3 separate regions of the Homo sapiens genome follow, and regions 1 and 2 are each linked to region 3. The links are contacts of gene promoters, found by promoter capture Hi-C in blood cells and fetal thymus (Javierre and others, 2016). All regions are on one chromosome and are shown on one strand. Each heading gives the region's core, a stretch centred on a gene start or on the middle of the fragment in contact. The rest is flanking DNA. Distances are from core to core; before and after follow the strand shown.

The links. Contacts are between HindIII fragments. The CHiCAGO score rates a contact against its expected background, and 5 or more counts as called.
Region 1: a contact is called between a fragment that was not itself captured here and the fragment with the promoter of C17orf107 in region 3, in 1 of 17 cell types (M0 macrophages). The highest score is 6.1, in M0 macrophages.
Region 2: a contact is called between a fragment that was not itself captured here and the fragment with the promoter of C17orf107 in region 3, in 7 of 17 cell types (total CD4 T cells, M0 macrophages, monocytes and 4 more). The highest score is 6.3, in total CD4 T cells.

What each region holds. Positions count from the first base shown.
Region 1 is chr17:4,649,328-4,653,487 of GRCh38, forward strand. All of the region lies in intron 2 of LOC105371499 (a long non-coding RNA gene), which reads left to right. Among named protein-coding and RNA genes, the nearest start is that of ALOX15, 9.7 kb to the left of the region's middle. RefSeq lists a silencer at 257-472. The HindIII fragment of the contact is 7,362 bases long and covers 1-4,160 here.
Region 2 is chr17:4,750,312-4,754,430 of GRCh38, forward strand. No RefSeq gene overlaps it. Among named protein-coding and RNA genes, the nearest start is that of CXCL16, 12 kb to the left of the region's middle. The HindIII fragment of the contact is 7,394 bases long and covers 1-4,119 here.
Region 3 is chr17:4,898,286-4,900,785 of GRCh38, forward strand. It overlaps C17orf107 (chromosome 17 open reading frame 107), which reads left to right and starts at 1,251. Exons shown (of 3, transcript NM_001145536.2): 1 at 1,251-1,543; 2 at 1,651-1,860; 3 at 1,952-2,500. The coding sequence starts at 1,478. The coding sequence ends at 2,248. It overlaps CHRNE (cholinergic receptor nicotinic epsilon subunit), which reads right to left. Exons shown (of 12, transcript NM_000080.4): 9 at 1,183-1,297; 10 at 913-1,099; 11 at 716-822; 12 at 1-606. The coding sequence ends at 451. RefSeq lists silencers at 848-997, 1,018-1,127 and an enhancer at 1,328-1,637. The HindIII fragment of the contact is 47,734 bases long and covers 1-2,500 here.

The sequences.
Region 1 (4,160 bases), core at 39-2,538, 250 kb before region 3:
CTAAGCAGCTATGTTGACTTTTTTTTTTTTTTTTTTTTGTAGAGACAGAGTCTCATTTTGTCACCCAGGCTGGAGTGCAGTGGTGCGATCTCGGCTCACCGCAACCTCTGCCTCCTGGGTTCAAGTGATTCTCCTGCCTCAGCCTCCCAAGTAGCTGGAATTACAGGGATGCACCATCACGCCCAGCTAATTTTTGTATTTTTAGTAGAGACAGGGTTCACTATGTTCACACTGAGACCAGTATGCGCCAGACTGGTCTCAAACTCCTGACGTCAAGTGATCCACCTGCCTTGGCCTCCCAAAGTGCTAGGATTCCAGGCGTGAGCTACCGTGCCCGGCCTCATGTAGACTTTTGATTAACCACAGTTCAAGGAGCCTGTAAGATTTCCAGTTTACCTATTGTTCCTTGTGTAAGAGTATGTACTTACCATAAAGCCTGCCCTTCAGCAATTGTCCTATACATCCCTTCTGAAGCATGCACCCTTTCCGTATGATATATAAGGCCTGGGTCTAGGGAGTAGTGGAGAGGGGATCCACGATCTTGTCTCACCACCACCTGAGACACAGATGTGGCTTCTGTTCCTAAGTTTCTATTAAATGTTTCTGAGAAACTAGATATGTCAGCCTCTTTCTTCGGCCTCTCAGCTTCCTCAGACTTTTGCAGATAGGTTTGCGTAAGTCTGCCCAGCGTGGAGCAATATTTTAGATATTAAGTCCTTTTTTATTTATTTATTTTTATTTTTTTTTTGAGATGGAGTCTCACTCTATTACCCAGGCTGGAGTGCAGTGACGCAATCTCGGCTCACCGCAATCTCCACCTCCCCGGTTCAAGCGATTCTCTTGCCTTAGCCTCCCAAGTAGCTGGAATTACACGCATGTGCCACCATGCCCCGGCTAATTTTTGCATTTTTAGTGGAGGCAGGGTTTCACCATGTTAGCCAGGCTGGTGGTCTTGAACTCTTGACCTCAGGTGATGCGCCCTCCTCGGCCTCCCAAAGTGCTGGGATTACAGATGTGAGCCACTGCGTCCCGCCAGATATTATGTCCTTTGAAAGACGTGTGATTTACAAACATTTTCTCCCCACAAGCAGCATCTCAGAGTGAAGATGCCTTTTTATCTCTTAGCAGTGTCTTTAGCAGAGTAGTTTTGAATTATGATGAAGTACAATTCATCAATTTTTTTCATTAAGGATTGTGTTTTGCCTATGCCTAACAAAAGACCATAAAGATTCTCTCCTGTTTTCTCTAGAAAGTTTATGATTTCACACTTTATATTTAAGTCTGTGATCCATTGAGTTAAATTTTGTATGAGGTATGAAGAATGGGTCAAGTTCATTTTTTGCATATGAATATTCATATGCAAATATCATTCCAGCACCATTTCTTGATTCCTCCATTGAATTGCCTTTGCATCCTTGCCAAAAATCACTTCACCACACCTATGCCTATGTTTGGGCTATTTTTCTCCATGATCTACGTGCTTATCATTCCACCAATACTACACTGACTTGATGACTGTAGCTTTATAAGTATTGAAATCAGGTAGTACTAGTCTTGAAACATCGTTCTTCATTTCCAAAACTATTTTAGATATTCCATTACCTTAGCCTTTTGCTATAAATTTTGCAATCTGCTTATTGATATTGATAAAAATTATTAGCATAAATTCCTACTGTATTTTTGGCCGGGTGCAGTGGCTCACGTCTGTAATACCAGCACTTTGGGAGACTGAGGCATGAAGGTGACTTAACCCCAGGAGTTCGAGACCAGCCTGGCCAACATGGTGAAACTCCGTCTCTACTAAAAATATAAAAATTAGCTGGGCATGGTGGCGGGCACCTGTAATCCGAGCTACTCAGGAGCTGAAGCAGGAGGATTGCTTGAACCCAGAAGGCGGAGGTTGCAGTGAGCCAAGATCATGCCATTGTACTCCAGCCTGGACAACAGAGTGAGACTCTGTCTTAAAATAAATAATTAAAATCCTTTTTTTTAAAATTGGGATTGCATTGAATCTATATATATATATATATATATATATATATTTTTTTTTTTTTTTTTTTTTTTGAGACAGAGTTTCGCTCTTGTTGCCCAGGCTGGAGTGCAATGTCGCAATCTTGGCTCACTGCAACCTCCATCTCCCAAGTTCAAGTGATTCTCCTGCCTCAGCCTCCCAAGTAGCTGGGATTACAGGCATGCACCACCACACCTGGCTAATTTTTGTCTTTTTAGTAGAGACGGGGTTTCACCATGTTGGCCAGGATGGTCTCGATCTCTTGACCTCGTGATCCGCCCACCTCAGCCTCCCAAAGTGCTGGGATTACAGGCGTGAGCCACTGCGCCTGGCCGTGACTTCTGAGACTAGGTCAAATGCCATGCAATTCCTTTCACTTTGCTGCCTTGGGATCACTCTTGCTAACTCTGTGAGTGAGCCTTTGCTCACTCTTGGAACGGTCACCATGCTGTGAGGAAACCCAGGTGGCATGGAGAGACCATGTGTGGATGTCCCAGCCGACAGCCCTAACTCTAGATCCAGGTAAAAAGCCAGTACTGACCACCAGTATGACTTAGGAAGTCTTCCAGATGACTCCAGCCTCAGCCACTGTCTAACTACAACCACATGAAAGTCTCCAAGTAAGGATAATTTAGCTGAGCCCCTGTCAATTGTCAAAACTCTAAACGCTAATAGTAAAATAATGATTGATGTCTTCAGTCGTCATTTTGGAGTGATTCATTATGCAATAACTGGAACAGACATGCAGAAGTCAAAGACAAAGTAGAAGAAGGCCTGGAGAGATGAACTAAGTCACTCCTTGTCTCAAGAAGTGTTGGCCAGGCGCAGTGGCTCATGTCTATAATCCCAGCAGTTTGGGAGGCCAAGGCGGGTGGATCACCTGAGGTCAGGAGTTTGAGACCAGCCTGGACAACATGGTGAAACCCTGTCTCTATGAAAAAACTAAAAATACAAAAATTAGCTGGGAGTAGTGGTGCACACCTGTAGTCCCACCAACCGGAGAGGCTGAGACAGGAGAATTGCTTGAACCCGGGAGGTGGAGGTTGCAGTGAGCCCAGATCACACCACTGCACTCCAGCCTGGGCGACAGAGCGAGACTCCATCTGAAAAAACAAAACAAAGTGTTGGCGGAAACCACAGGCCCCCTTGCCTTACAGGAGACAGAAGCCTAGGGGATAAGGCATACCAGCTGCAAACAGGGCAGACATCCACCCAGTGGCACTCCACTTTGTGGATGCCAAGAGATGTGTGGTGGCCGGGCATAGTGGCTCAAGCCTGTAATCCCAGCACTTTGGGAGGCCAAGGCGGGTGGATCATGAGGTCAGGAGATCAAGACCATCCTGGCTAACACGGTGAAACCCCGTCTCTACTAAAATTACAAAAAAATCAGCCAGGCGTGGTGGCAGGCACCTGCAGTCCCAGCTACTCGGGAGGCTGAGGCAGGACAATGGCATGAACCCGGGAGGCGGAGCTTACAGTGAGCTGAGATTGCAGGAAAAAAAAAAAAAAAAAACAAACAAACATGTGTGGAGCCCACTAGCTGAATCTAGTGTGAAAAAACAAACAAAAAACAGGCAGGATATACCAATAGCTCTCCAGGTCATCCTTTAACTGATTATTTTCCAGCCCCACCCAACATCAATTAGCCATATGTACTGATGGAAGTCATGTAGGTCGAGCACAGGAGACATCACAGAGAAAAGAGTGAGGAAATTTAACCAGTTGCTAAACAACCAGAAGGAACCAGGAAATAATCCCCCAAAAAAGGGCCTTAGGGAAGGATCCTGTCCAACCAACCCTTTTGGAGGAAATGAGAGGAGTACTGGGCTTAATCATTGGCTGTAAGATGACGATGACTCCAGCCTTGGTCTAAATACACTGTCCATCATCTGGGTGAAGCGGAGGAAGACGACGTGAGTTCAAGAACTCCAGAATTCTTATTAAATCCCAAGTCTTTGATGTGGAAATAAAGTTTAGGAAATGGTTATGAAAGAAAAATGCCTTGTAGAAAACTTCTGAATAATTTTAAATTAAGAGGAACAGTGGTTGAACTAGGTAAATCAAGAAGTATGAGTACATTTATGTTTACAGAAATAAAGATTGACTAAAATATGAAATACCACAAAGCCAAAGAATGCAAGTAGGACAA
Region 2 (4,119 bases), core at 1,325-3,824, 150 kb before region 3:
ACTTAAGACAGCCTCAGGGCTGTCAGTGAAGGCTACCAGGAGGAAATGACACCCAAACAGTGACCTGAAGGACACGTAAGAGTTAGACAGGTAAAGAAGAGAAGAGCCGCCGGGTGCAGTGGCTCACGCCTGTAATCCCAGCACTTTGGGAGGCTGAAGTGGGTGGATCTCAAGGTCAGGAGTTCAAGATCAGCTTGGCCAAGATGGTGAAACCCTGTCTCTACTAAAAATACAAAAATTAGCCAGGCGTGGTAGCAGGTGCCTGTAATCCCAGCTACTTGGGAGGCTGAGGCAGAGAATTGCTTGAACCCAGGAGGCAGAGGTTGCAGTGAGCTGAGATCACACCACTGCACTCCAGCCTGGGCAATAGAGCAAGACTCCATCTCAAGAAAAAAAAAAAAAAAAAGAAGTGTGGTGGGATGGGAAGGGCAGCATGGATCTGTTTGGGATGCTAGTCTCAACCCAGCCTCATGGACTGACGTCTGAGCCCTGCAAGAGGAACCACAGGCAGAGGCTGAAGGAAGAGTCACTGTATAGAGCCTCTGGAAGGTCAGCAGGGCACAAACACCACAGCACAGCACCTAAATCCCCGGAATCAGTGTCACACGGGGGGCAGGGATCCCCCCATTTCTCAGGGGACACAGTGTGGTTTTGAGAGGCATTGAGAATCCCAAGGAACCCAAAAATGTGGCTCTGTATGACTTCAATCGTTTTTCTTTTTTCTTTTATTTTTTTGAGACAGAGTTTCGCTCTTGTCGCCCAGGCTGGAGTGCAATGGTGCAATCTCGTCTCACTGCAACCTCCGCCTCCCGGGTTCAAGCGATTCTTCTGCCTCAGCCTACCTAGTAGCTGAGATTACAGGCATGCATCACCACGCCTGGCTAATTTTGTGTTTTTGTGGGTTTTTTTGTTTTGTTTTTGCTTTCTTGGGTTTTGTTTTGTTTTGTTTTGTTTTGTTTTTGTTTTTGTTTTTGTTTTGAGACTACAAGCGCCCGCCACCGCACCTGGCTAATTTTTTTCTTTTCGTGCTTTTAGTAGAGATGGGGTTTCACCGTGTTAGCCAGGATGGCCTCGATCTCCTGACCTCGTGATCTGCCCGCCTCGGCCTCCCAAAGTGCTGGGATTACAGGCTTGAGCCACCGTGCCCGGTCTAATTTTGTATTTTTAGCACAGATAGGGTTTCACCATGTTGCCCAGGCTAGTCTCGAACTCCCGTCCTCAGGGGATCCACCCTCCGTGGCCTCCCAAAGTGCTTAGATTACAGGCGTGAGCCACAGCGCCTGGCCAATTTCAATTTTTTAAAATGTATTGGGGTTGGTTTGATGGCCCGGGATATATGCACTATATTGGTATCTGTTGCATGAGTACTTGAATACGTATTCTCCTGTCATTGGGTGGAATGATCTATAAGTATTCACTACATCCTGTTTGTTTATGACATTGTTGAGTTCTTCTATCTCCTTACTGGTTTTTGTCTAGTTGTTCAATCAATTGCTGACAGGTGAACCATGAACTATGAATTTAAACAAACCTGGTTTGAAACTGGACTCATCTGGTTACTAGCTGGGTGGTCACGAGCAGATTTAGAATTAGACTCTGGAGAAACTCTTCTGAGATCCAAACTTTACTGGTCTGACATGGAAATTACAAGTAGCAAACGTTCATATAGCGCTTACTCTGTGCCAGACTGTGTTCTAATCACTTGGCATTTATCAGTCTATTCCTCACACAACAAACTTAAGTCAGGTGTTTATTACCCCCCATTTTACAGATGAGAAAACTGAGGCACAGGGAGGTGAAGATAAAGTAACCAAGTAGGCTGTGAACAAACACAGGCAATCTGTCTCCAGAATATGCACTTTTAACCCCTTCGCCATTCCGCTTCTGGGAAAATGAGGCAATTTCCTGGGATAGTTAAGAAATGTTTGCTATGGAAGCCCTTCCTTCCTAGAAGCCTGTCTCTGTCTCGCTCTTTTTTTTTTCTTTTTTTTTTTTTCTTTTTTGAGACATACTCTTGCTCTGTCACACAGGCTGGAATGCAGTGGTGGGATCTCAGCTCATTGCCACATCCACCTCCCGGGTTCAAGAGATTCTCGTGCCTCAGCCTCCCAAGTAACTGGGGCTACAGGCACACACCACCACACCAGGCTAATTTTTGTATTTTTAGTAGAGATGGGGTTTCACCATGTTGTCCAGGCTGGTCTCGAACTCCTGACCTCAGGTGATCTGCCTGCTTCAGCCTCCCAAAGTGGAAGGATTACGGGCGTGAGCCACTGCGACCGGCCTCTCTCTGTCTCTTTGAAACAGGGTCTCACTCTGTTGCCCAGGCTGCAGTGCAGTGATGCAGTCTTGGCTCACTGCCACCCCAACCTCCCGGACTCAGGTAATTCTCCTCCTTAGCCTCCCAAGTAACTGGGACTACAGGTGCGCACCACCACACCCAGCTAATTTTTTGTATTTTTAGTAGAGACAGGGTTTTGCTATGTTGCTCAGGCTGGTCTCAAACTCCTGGCCTCAAGCAATCCTCCTGCCTCAGCCTCCCAATGTGCTGGGATTATAGGCACCAGCTGCCTCGCCCAGCTGGAGCCAGTCTCTCTTATACCAGGCATTGATGATTGGCCATGCAAAGAATCAGAAACACTCTGTCAAGTTTTCTTTGAAATACATGAAGGAACTTAAGGGAGACCCACAGGGCTCCAAGAGCTTCAGGTAAGATCACTACTGCCCACTTCACCACTATAATGGGAGATGGAATAGAACATGATAAAGTTTGCCGGGCACAGTGGCTTACGCCTGTAATCCCAGCACTTTGGGAGGCCAAGGTGGGTGGATTGCCTGAGGTCAGGAGTTCGAGACCAGCGTGACCAATATGGTGAAACCCTGTCTCTACTAAAAATACAAAAATTAGCTGGACATGGTGGTGCATGCCTGTAATCCCAGCTACTCAGGAGGCTGATGAGGCAGGAGAATCACTTGAACCTGGGAGGCGGAGGTTTCAGTGAGCCGAGATTGTGCCACTGCACTCCAGCCTGGGAGACAGAGTGAGACTCCGTCTCAAAAAAAAAAAAAGATAAAGTTTGAGGCTTAGGGGTCCACATCACCTGAGTTTAAATCAAGGCTCCCAAGTTAACTTCACACACTGGATAAGTGACTCAAGCTCTCCGTGTCTGTCTCCTCACCTGTAAAATGGGGTATTAACTGTACTTATTCCACAGAACTTGTGAGACCAAAGGCAATTAATAAATTAATAAATGCAAATAAATAATTTGCATTTAAATTATGCAAATAAATAATTAATAATTAATAAATGCAAATTCTTAGAAGAGTTCTCAGCATGATAAGTATTTAATAAATGGTATAAGTTGTTGTGTTATTACTATTGCAAAATAAGAGGTCAACCCTAAGCCATGGACTGCAACTACAACTACTTCCCACCTTCTGCAAAAAGAACATCATGCTTTACCTCCCTGTTAGTTGTGGGCACCCCAGAAGTCCACAGTGGCCAGGGCAGGCATCTTCACCCAGACTTACCCCAAAGGACTCCGTTCATCTCCATTTGGGTTCACTCTCCTTTCTCCTCTCCACCCTGCCCCAAATCCTTTCATTGCACCCTTGGAAACCTAAAGTATGTTCGCAAAACAAAATCCCCAAATCATCAAGCTCTTCTCTCAGTTTTGTTTGCCTTCTTGCTCTCATAGGAACCTGGCTCTTCCCGCAAAGACATTGCTCCCTTGCAACGCTCCAAGGAGGCAGCTATTTCCTTTTTCTCCCACCCTCCACATACCTGCAGTGAGGCAGCTGTCCCTTCCAAAACATTTCTCCTCTCTCCAAAACAAAACAAAGGCATCTGTTGTTTTAAATTTTTTTATTTTTAATTTTTCTGGGTTCATAGTAGGTATATATATTTATGGGGTACAAGAGATGTTTTGGTACAAGAATGTAATGTGTAATAATCACATCATAAAAGCATTTATCCCCCTTAAGCATTTATCCTTTGTGTTACAAACAATCCAATTATACTTTTAGTTATTTTTAAATATACAATTAAATTATTATTGACTGTAGTCACTCTGTTGTGCTATCAAATACTAGACATTATTCAAACTATTTTTTGTACCC
Region 3 (2,500 bases), core at 1-2,500:
TGTTTGGTTCCCACCCGCTCCAGCAGAGCCAGACCAGGGAAGAAGAGGGTTTCCTGGCTACAGCCTCCCTGTGTGCAAGTCCTGCAAAGGGGTCTCCTGTTTGGCTATGAAATGAATATAGATAGATAGCTCACAAGCTGGCAGCCACCAGAGTCCCGTGGGGCTGAGCCTTAGAAAGGCTGGGAGGTCAGCAAGGCTGAATGAAGGGCAGTCCTTGCTTTCTGGAAGACTGGCACCTGAGAGCCTATGTGAACCCTTTCCTCCTGCTGACCCCTGGACTGCGGCCAGGCCTACACACGCCAGGGAACGGGCACACACCATTCTTGTGAAGTTCACAAACTGCAGATTGATCAGCAGGGGGAAGGGATCATAATGCCGTGGTGGCGGCAGCCTACTTTTTCAAAATCAATTTCCTACTGGAGATGGGTGGGAAATTGAAGTCGGTGCGAGCTAAGGCTGGATACACGGCGCGTAGGGGAGATCAGGCACTCGGTTGAAGTAGGCCCCGAGGAAGATGAGGCTGGAGCCCACGCTGAAGAGCACCAGAGCGGCCCAGAAGCAGATGTTGTCAAGGGCATTCCCCATGCGCACCCAGTCGGACACTTCCTGGGGAAGGGTCGGCACAGTCAGTAAAGAGGCAGCTGCAGGAGCCAGCGGCATGGGAGACAGTGGTGGGCCTCTGCCTCGCTCCACCCGCCTCTGGCTCCTGTCCCACCTCGCCGGTGGCCTCCTGATCTCTCGTGCTCTCGGCCACGAAGTTCACGGCATCCACACAGCAGCGGACCTCGGGGGCGGCGGCGCCCAGGCTCTGGCAGAAGGCAGCTGGCGGGGAAAACACCGGGGTGGGCCTTAGGAGCCTCCCCCCTGGCAGGCACCCCGCGCGGCCCCCCGGGCCAGGGCCACTGTGCTCACCCGTCCAGGTCCCCTGCCGGTGCCTCTGCCCCTCAAACACGAGCTCGCTCCGTGGCTTTTTCAGTATCAGCTCCTCCGCGCGGAGCAATAAGCCCACCGACGACGCCCGCCTTGGGGGCGAGGCGGCCCGGGGGGCCTCGGGCGGCGGCGGGGAGCCCAGGAGGCGCGGCAGCAGCTCCAGGAGAACCTGGGGCAGGGGCGGGGCTTAGGGGACGAGGTTAGTACGAAGCCCCACCCCGACCCGGGCTGCACCGCCCCCTCCGCGCTTACGTGGCGCAGCCGCGGGGACATGGCGTGGGTGGTGGGCGTCCGCTGGGACACGTTGAGCACGATGACGCAATTCATGACAATGAGCGTGGCGACCACCATGACGAAAATAAGGAACCTGAGGAGCCCGGAAGGCATGACATCACCGTTCCTCCTCCCAGCTACCGAAGGCGCCGCGCGCTGACCTCACAAACACGGCTTCTCCTGGTACGGGCTGGTTACGCCCTCCAGCTGCGCCCCCTACACGACGACAGACGCGTCCCCCAGCCCTTCTCCTGTCCTACCACTTGTGGCGGCCATGAAGGGGACCCCCAGCTCCCTGGACACCCTGATGTGGATCTACCACTTCCACAGCTCCACCGAGGTGAGGCTACGCCCGCCAAGGGCTGCACCTCGAGACCTTCTGGGTAGGTCTCCTGTTCGCCCCTGTGACCCCTGCCCTGCTACTCTACTGCTCTGCTCCTTCTCCAGGTGGCCCTCCAGCCCCCGCTTCTGTCTTCCCTGGAACTCTCCGTGGCCGCAGCCCATGAATATCTGGAGCAGAGGTTCAGAGAGCTGAAGTCCCTGGAGCCACCCGAACCGAAGATGCAGGGGATGCTGCCTGCCCCGAAGCCCACCCTGGGGCTGGTGTTGAGAGAAGCCACAGCCAGCCTCGTGAGCTTCGGCACCACCTTGTTAGAGGTGGGGTACTGGGGGGCTTAGGATACGCGGCGATCGGGTAGCGGGAACAAGGACCTCTGCCTCCCCGCTAACCCCTGTGCCCCCAATGCAGATCTCAGCCCTGTGGCTGCAGCAGGAGGCGCGGCGACTAGACGGCAGCGCGGGCCCAGCCCCAGACGGCAGGGATCCGGGTGCAGCGCTGAGCCGGGTAGCCCAAGCCGCAGGGCAGGGGGTTCGGCAAGCTGGGGCTGCGGTGGGCGCCAGCGCCCGGCTCCTAGTCCAGGGAGCATGGCTATGCCTGTGTGGACGGGGTCTGCAGGGGTCTGCCTCATTCCTGCGACAGTCGCAACAGCAGCTAGGCCTCGGAATCCCCGGAGAACCGGTGAGCTCAGGACACGGGGTGAGTTAGGGGCCAGAGGCGGCGGGGCTAGGGAGGCACTGAGCCGGACTGTCCCCCAAGAGAGCTACTCGGGAGACCTCCAGGTGACGTCCAGCAGCAGTGAGGAGGACGGCGGACCAGGGACTCCATCCCCGTACCAGCCCCACCCAGCGTCCGAATAAAGCCCAGGGCGGGGCGAGACAGCCAGAGCTTTTCCCGGGGTCTCTGGGTTTTGGCCACGCCCCCACCCTTCACACTGGCCACACCCCCGCGGGGGCTCCG